Linked DNA regions of Homo sapiens: all the other regions are linked to region 3. The links are contacts of gene promoters, found by promoter capture Hi-C in human tissues and cell types (Jung and others, 2019). All regions are on one chromosome and are shown on one strand. Each heading gives the region's core, a stretch centred on a gene start or on the middle of the fragment in contact. The rest is flanking DNA. Distances are from core to core; before and after follow the strand shown. Region 1 overlaps EVI5 (ecotropic viral integration site 5). Region 2 overlaps EVI5 (ecotropic viral integration site 5). Region 3 holds the start of EPHX4 (epoxide hydrolase 4).

What was found. The method cuts DNA at HindIII sites, captures the fragments that hold promoters and counts their contacts. A contact is called where the count stands out against the background at its distance.
Region 1: a contact is called between a fragment that was not itself captured here and the fragment with the promoter of EPHX4 in region 3, in 1 of the 25 tissues and cell types used here (thymus).
Region 2: a contact is called between a fragment that was not itself captured here and the fragment with the promoter of EPHX4 in region 3, in 1 of the 25 tissues and cell types used here (dorsolateral prefrontal cortex).

Annotation. Positions count from the first base shown.
Region 1 is chr1:92,541,744-92,544,443 of GRCh38, forward strand. The region is part of intron 19 of EVI5 (ecotropic viral integration site 5); the gene reads right to left. Among named protein-coding and RNA genes, the nearest start is that of GFI1, 56 kb to the left of the region's middle. The HindIII fragment of the contact is 4,277 bases long and covers 1-2,700 here.
Region 2 is chr1:92,678,139-92,680,838 of GRCh38, forward strand. The region is part of intron 9 of EVI5 (ecotropic viral integration site 5); the gene reads right to left. Among named protein-coding and RNA genes, the nearest start is that of EVI5, 110 kb to the right of the region's middle. The HindIII fragment of the contact is 3,514 bases long and covers 1-2,700 here.
Region 3 is chr1:92,028,709-92,031,408 of GRCh38, forward strand. EPHX4 (epoxide hydrolase 4) reads left to right here and starts at 1,277. Exons shown (of 7, transcript NM_173567.5): 1 at 1,277-1,602. The coding sequence starts at 1,372. It overlaps LOC124904218 (a long non-coding RNA gene), which reads right to left and starts at 1,679. Exons shown (of 2, transcript XR_007066222.1): 1 at 657-1,679. RefSeq lists an enhancer at 976-1,477. The HindIII fragment of the contact is 17,230 bases long and covers 1-2,700 here.

The DNA of each region.
Region 1 (2,700 bases), core at 94-2,593, 510 kb after region 3:
AAATATCAGAATAAAGCGAGTCACATGAATTTTGTTTCCCAGTGCATATAAAAGTTATCTTTACATTATACTGTAGTCTGTTAAGTGTGCAACAGTATATGTTTAAAAACAATGTATATACCTTAATTAAAAATGGTTTACTCCTAAAAAATGCTAATGATCACCTGAGTGGTCAGCAAGTAATGGATCTTTTTGCTGGTGGAGGGTCTTGCCTTGATGCTGGTGGCAGCAGGCTGGCCAGTTACTGAAGGTTGGGGTGGTTGTGGCAATTTCTTAAAGTAAGACAACAATAAAGTTTGCTGCACTTCCTCACTCGGCCTTGCATGAAGTATTTCTCTGTAGCATTAGATGCTGTTTGATAGCATTTTACTCACAGTAGAACTTCTTTCAAAATTGGAGTAAATGCTCTCAAACCCTGCCACTGCTTTATCAACTAAGTTTACGGAATATTCTAAATCCTTTGTTGCCATCTCAACAATGTTCACAGTATCTTTACCAGGAGAAGATTCTAGCTCAAGAAACCACTTTTTTTTTTTGCTCATCCCTAAGAAGCAACTCCTCGTCCATTCAAGTTTGATCATGAGATTGCAGCAATTCAGGCACATCTTCAGGCTCTACTACATTACTAATTCTAGTTTTCTTGCTCTTTCCACTACATCTGCAGTGACTTCCTCCACTGAAGTCTTCAATCCCTCAAACGGTTGGAATCAACTTCTTCCAAACTCCTGTTAATGTTGATATTTTGACCTCCTCCCATGAATCACAAATGTTCTTAACGACATCTAGAATGGTGAACCCTTTGCGGAGGATTTCAATTTACTTTGCCCAAATCCATTAGAGGAATCACTATATATGGCACTATATGTCTTCTGGATAACCTGCTGCTTCTACATCAGCACTTGCTGCTTCACCTTGTACTTTTATGTAATGGAGCCTTATGAAATGATGTCTTAAATAATAAGACTTGAAAGTTGAAATTACTCCTTGATCCACGGGCTGCAGAATGAATGTTTCGTTAGCAGCATGAAAACAACATTAATCACCATGTACATCTGCATCAGAGCTCTTGGGTGACTAGTTGCATTGTTTCTGAGCAGTAATATTTTGGAAGGAAATCATTTTTTCTGAGCAGTAGGTTTCAACAGTGGGCTTAAAATATTTATTTTACCATGCTGTAATGAGATGTGCAGTCATCCAGGCTTTGTTTTTTCATTTACAGAGCACAGGCAAAGTAGATTTAGCATAATTCTTAAGAACCCTAGGGTTTTCAGAATGGTAAATGTGCACTTGGCTTCAACTTAAAGTCAACAGCTGCATTAGGCCCTAACGAGAGAGCCATTTGAAGCTTTGAAGCCAGATATTGACTTCTCTGTCGCTAGGAAAGCCATAGAGGGCATCTTCCTCCGGTATAAGACTGTTGCATCTACATTCAAAATCTGTTGTTTGGGGTGGCCTCCTTCATCAACGATCTTAGCTAGATCTTCTGGATAACTTGCTGCAGTTTCTACATCAGCACTTGCTACTTCACCTTGTACTTTTATGTGACGGAAATGGCTTCTTTCCTTAAACCTCATGAACCAACCTCTGTTAGCCTCCCACTTTCCTTCTGCAGCTTCCTCACTTCTCTCAGCCTTCAAAGAATTGAAGAGAGTTATGGCCTTGCACTGGATTAGGCTTTGGCTTAAGAGAATGTTGTGGCTGGCTTGATCTTCTATCCAGATCACTCAAACTTTCTCCATATCAGCAATGAGGCTGCTTTGCTTTCTTATCATTTGTGTTTTCAGTGGAGTAGTAACTTTAATTTCCTTCAAGAACTCTTCCTTTGCAATCACAACTTGGCTAACTGTTTGGTGCAACAGACCTAGCTTTCAGGCTATCTCAGCTTTCAACATGCCTGCCTCACAGCTTAATCATTTCTGGCTTTTGACTATATGAGTGCAATTTGTGGCACCCAAAAACAATTACAATAGCAACATCGAAGATCAATGATCACAGATCACCAGAAGGTATAATAGTGAAAAAGTTTAAAAAATTGTGAAAATTACCAAAATATGACACAGAGACATGAAGTGAGCACACGCTGTTGGAAAAACGGCATTGAAAGACTTGCTCAATGCAGGATTGCGACAAACCTTCACTTTGTAAAAACACAGTAGGATATAACAACCATTTATTGAGGCGCAATAAAGCAAAGCATAATAAAGCCAGGTATGCCTGTTTATCCATACAGTAGAACATTATTAGGTGACAAAAATAAATAAAAGCACTGACACATGCTACGACATGAATGAGCCTTGAAAACATTATACTAAGTGAAAAAGCCAGTCACAGAAAACCACAGGTTCTATGATTCCATTTATATTAAATGTCCAGAATTGGGAAATGTGTAGAGACAGAAAGTAGATTAGTGGGTTGCCTAGGGTTGGGGGAATAAGGCTTGGAGAGAAATAGGGAGTGACAAGCTAAATGAGCATAGGATTTCTTTTTGGAGAGATAATGTTCTAGAATTGACTGTGATGATAGCTGCATAACTGTGACTATATTAAAAACCACTGAATTGTAAACTTTACGTGGGTGCATTGTATCATATGTAAATAATGTCTCAGTAAAGCTGTTATACAGATAAAATCAGACAGCATTTTGTATGTTTCTAAGGAAAGGATACCAGATTGAAAATAAGTAATTTTCTAATTAGAAAAT
Region 2 (2,700 bases), core at 188-2,687, 650 kb after region 3:
TCAAACCTCAGCATCATGCAATATGCCCATGAAATACATATGTGCATGTACCCCCTGAATTTAAAATAAAGGTCAAAATTATTAAAAAGTAAAAATAATTTAAAACATGACACTGACCACGGTGGATCATGCCTCTAATCCCAGCACTTTGGGGGGCCAAGGGGGGCCAAGTGCTTGAGGCCAGGGGTTCAAGACCAGCCTGGGCAACATGGTGAAACCCAGTCTCTACAAAAAATACAAAAATTAGCCAGGTGCGGTGGGTGCATGCCTGTAGTTGCAGGTACTCAGAGGCTGAGGTGGGAGGATTGCTTGAGCCAGGAAAGTCAAGGTTGCAGTGAGCCATGATCTAGCCACTGCACTCCAGCCTGGGACCCTTCCCTGCAACGCCCAGAAAGTGATAAACCATTTTTTTAAAAGAAAAAAGATGTCCTGAAAAGGGCATATCATCTCTGTGGTCTGTCACTGATTGGAGGAGAGTAAGCACGATATGCAACTCTATGGTAAGTCTAAATTTACCTTTATAAAAATGTATAGGCCACACAAAAATTAGTACCACCAAATTTTTTTTATCTTGCTCTTGACAAAAAATATCAATACCAAGGTTACTCCAAATATAAACCAGACCAGGCTCCAAATAACTTACAGCTGCTTTCAAAAATAAAATTCTCCCTCAAAGGACAGAAATCTATTACTTATCTCATTTAGCTCACAACAACTTTTTAATATAAGTTGTTATACCCACTCTGGGGTTTAGAAAGCTTGAGAAACTTCTGTATAGTCACAGATTTGACTGCTACATTACTCTGTCTCTCACTAAAGTGTATCTTAAAACAGCAGTCCCCAACCCCTGGGCAGTGGACCAATACCAGTCTGTGGCCTGTTAGGAACTGGGTCATACAGCAGGAGGTGAACGGCAGGCAAGTGAACATCACTGCCTGAGCTCCACCTCCTGTCAGATCAGTGGCAGCATTAGATTCTCAAAGGAGTGCAAACCCTATTGTGAATTGTGCATGCTGGGGATCTAGGCTGCGGGCTCCTTATGAGAATCTCATGACTGATGATCTGACATGAGGTGGAACAGTTTCAACCTGAAGCCATACCCCCAGCCCCCATAAGTGGAGAAATGGTCTTCCACGAAAGCGGTCCCTAGTGTCAAAAAGGCTGGGGACCACTGTCTTAAAAGACTATAAGATAGCCGACAGAATTTATTAAAGACTCCAAAGAGCTGCAAAACATTTTCAACAGCTGCACTACTGAAATAAGTTTATAGCCTTCACAAATGACTACTCTGAAGTAGTTATCATTATGCATTATGTAAAAATATCACTCATTTATACACCTAAAAATAAACCCTACTTATTTAACTCCACTGATAGTGTTTTTCAATAAACTTAATTTAAAAAAAAATATTTGGTTTACAAAAAGATTGTGAAGATAGTACAGAGATTCCATGTATCCCATCCCAGTTTACCCTATTATTAACATGTTACAGTAGTATGGTACATTGTTATAATTAATGAACCAATATTAACACATTGCTGTTACCTAAAGCCCATGACAGTTTTGATGAGAACCTTGACAGTTTTGAGGAGTACTGGTCAGGTATTTTGTAGTTATCATTATGTGATCTTCAAAAGGGACCATTCCGTCCTTCAAATGGGATTTGTCTCATGTTTTTCTCATGATTATACTGGGGTTATTGGGTTTTCAGGAGGAAGACCACAGACATAAATGCCGTTTTCATTGCCTCATACTAAGGGTACAAACTATCAACAGAACATCACTATTGATGTTGACCTTGATCATCTGGCTGAAGGAGTACACACCAGGTTTTTCCAGTGTAAAGTTATTTGTTCCCCCTTCACTGATAGTGTTTTTAGACCCGCATTATGATTTGTCTAAATTACTGGAAAATACTCATAATTGTTCTTTCTATGGCCAGTTTCATAACTCAATATTTTCTATACACTATTAACAGAGTGATCTTTTTTTAAAATGTTGATTTGGATCACGCCACACCCAGCGTGTCAGTGGTTACTCATCACCTTCAGACTAAATTTCAAAGGCTTACAAAAAAGTAATCAAAGCTCTCTGGAGAAATAGCTCATTACTGCGCAGGAGCCAAGAAGGTATAAGTTGAACCTGGAATATTTTGTTGCCCCAAAGAAAGGAAATTCCCAAAGAATAATGGGGAAAATATCAAAAGAACAAAGCACCCAGGTTGCAAGGGTTCCCACTGGACAAATCAGGGATAATTTAATAGTAATGGATTATAGCTCACTGAATAAAATAATCCATGAATTCACACTGATGTAAATAAATGAATAAATAAATGAGGGTGAAGGGAAAGCTCTTCCTTACAGTAGAATGCTGATTAATAAATAAAGAATGAGGGAGTGGGAAAATCATAAATGGATATAAAACTGGTATGGTTAAGTTTGGTAAAGAAAGAGGTTACTACATAATCTCAAAGTAGCCTGCCACAAATTACTTATTACAAAAGGGGAAATAATAACTTTACAGTAGTAAAACCCAGCAAACATCACCTTAATCAAGTGACCAAAGCTAACATTACCAGTTCTGAGAGAAAGTAATATCATATATATCGTATGGTGAAATGAGAAGATATAATATCAGGGGTATACCTGCCAAAAATGCACAACCTGAATCTAATCCTGGGGAAATCCCAGAAAAACTCAG
Region 3 (2,700 bases), core at 27-2,526:
TTGCAAAGGTCTCAATAAGTTCCTAACTCAAGACCCTAGAAAAAAAGAGCAAAATACAGTTAACCCTCAAACAACATGTGTTTGAACTGTGTAGGTCCACTTACACATGGATTTTCTTCCACCTCTTCCCTCCCCCTCACCCCAAGACAGGAAGATCAACCTCCCTTCTTCTTTCTCCTCCTCAGCTTACCTAACCTGATGATGACAAGGATGAACACTCTTAAGATAATCCACTTCCACTTAATGAATAGTAAATGTATTTTCTCTTCCTTATGATTTTAACATTTTTCTTAATTATAAAGATACAGTATGTAATACATAAACATATGTTAATTGTTTTGGTCAGTAGTAGGCTATTAGTACTTAAGTTTGGGGGAACTCAAAAGTTATACATGGATTTTCAGATGTGAAAGGGTTCAGCAACCCTAACCCCCCGCATTGTTCAAAGGTCAATTGTATAACTCACACATGCTGAAGTAAATTCAAAATTGTACAGCCACTTTGGAAACCAGTTTGACAGTTTCTCATAAAAAATGAACACTTAATACCTGACCCGGTGATTGGGAAAAGGCTTAATGAAATTCTAACAGTGAACTGGACGATAGAAGAGGTCAGGACAAGAGTGGCCATGTCGGTGCTGAGGCTGAGATACCTACCGAGGACTGTCACTCTCACGGCTTCCAGCCCTTCGACGAACTCTCAGGTGTGTGGCCTTCTGGCCAGGCTTCTGCCGCGTCACGTTGTTGAAGCATTCGTTGTATCCCTGGGGTTGCAGCTCTCTGTAAGTTTGCTGTGGCTGAACCAGGCAAGGCATAGGCGGATTTCTACAGAAATTATGATTCCACGAAAGATTTTGAGAAGAGGAAGGCTGGTATCTTTCAGAGTGCAGAGTGATTTTGCACTCTAAAGAATCTCTTTGGGTGTAATAGCATGGAAGTTTGTCGCTGACCTGTGTCCCTGAACTATGACACACGAATATGTGGGCTTAGAAATAGTTTTGCTTGATACATTGAGAACAACAAAGAAGACTGAGTGGCGCTACCTTCTTTGGTGCCCAGGATGGTTTGGGAAAGTCTCGCCTTCATCCTCCCCCACAGTTTTGCGATTTTGAAACGGGATCTCGCTCTCCGCGGAAGACAGCCAAGCTCTGCACCCCGGCCTGGCCCGCCGCACCCCGCAGGCCCGGCTCTCCCCTGCGCGCTCCGGGCTGGGCGCGGCGCGTGTGCGGAGCCGCCGCGGTGACACGGAACGCCGGCCGCCCCGGGCCGGGGGAGGCGCGCGTCGAGAGGCGACGGCGGGCTGGCCTGGCGCGCTGCGGCGCTCGCTCACCCGCTCCCGAGGAAGGGCAGTGGGCCCCGCCGCCGCCTCCCAATGGCGAGGCTGCGGGATTGCCTGCCCCGCCTGATGCTCACGCTCCGGTCCCTGCTCTTCTGGTCCCTGGTCTACTGCTACTGCGGGCTCTGCGCCTCCATCCACCTGCTCAAACTTTTGTGGAGCCTCGGCAAGGGGCCGGCGCAGACCTTCCGGCGGCCCGCCCGGGAGCACCCTCCCGCGTGCCTGAGCGACCCCTCCTTGGGCACCCACTGCTACGTGCGGATCAAGGTGAAGGGCCGCGCGGGCCTGGCGGGAGCGGGAGGGAGCGTGACCGCCGCGAGGGTGGGGGGCTCCGGGCTTCTCCTTCCGAGACGCTGGCTCAGCGTCCCCTAGTGTCCTGGCAGGAGGGGAGGAGGGGTTGGGTCCCTGTGTGTCGTGTGTGTGTGTGTGTGTGTGTGTGTGTGAGAGAGAGAGAGAGAGAGAGAGATACAGATAAACAGCACTCGGTCTTTGCAGGCACCTTGATTGGTTTCTGAATGTGGAACTTCTCTAATCAGGGGCCTCTTATATTACTGCCCCCCGGCGCCACAACAACCCAGAATAAACCTGCTCTTTTTCCTACTGCAAGGGGAAGCTGTCTCCTGTCACCCTTTTGCCCTTTAGAGCTCAGATCAGCTGTAGAGAATTGTTCCTCGTGGCATCCTAATGTCTCAGGAGGCTGTTCTTGCCCAATTTTAGAGATAATAAGAGTAAACAGTCAGTCTTTGGGAGTCATGAGTTTATTATGATCACAGACGACTTAGGTTGCATGAAACAATAAGTAAATTGTGTGTGTTGTGGGGAGGAATGCATACTTATGAAGTCAGGGACCAAAGAAAGGAATGGAATAAAAGGTAAATCCAGCCATGCCTGCAGACGCTAATTGTTCAAGCTTCCTCACAGCCCACAAATATTCTGTTTCCTGAGGCTCCAGGTGGTGAAGGGAAATAGTTCCCGTGATACACCCTGCAGTCTGACTCACAGGCCTTTCAAACCCAGCCTCATAAGAGGGGATGTTTATGTCACCAAGTCCTTATTTCCTGTTAGGAGCTAAATTGCCCCGCAGCTGAAGTTCAGAAGGGCAAGAGAACTTCTTTCTTGCCTGGGGTCGACATGAGAATTAAATAGGTTAATATTTATAAAAACAAACACGAAAAACTTAGAACAATGCCTGATGCATAGTCAGTGCAATAAAGTATCTGTTAATTAAATCCATTGCAGTGCCCATAACATTTAATCCTCCAAGACTCACCACCAATAAAAAAAGTTATTGAACCTCTAGGAAGCCATCGTGCAGCTGAGGGTAAAGTCAGATTTGTTATCTCTGTTCAACCTGAGGGGTAAAAG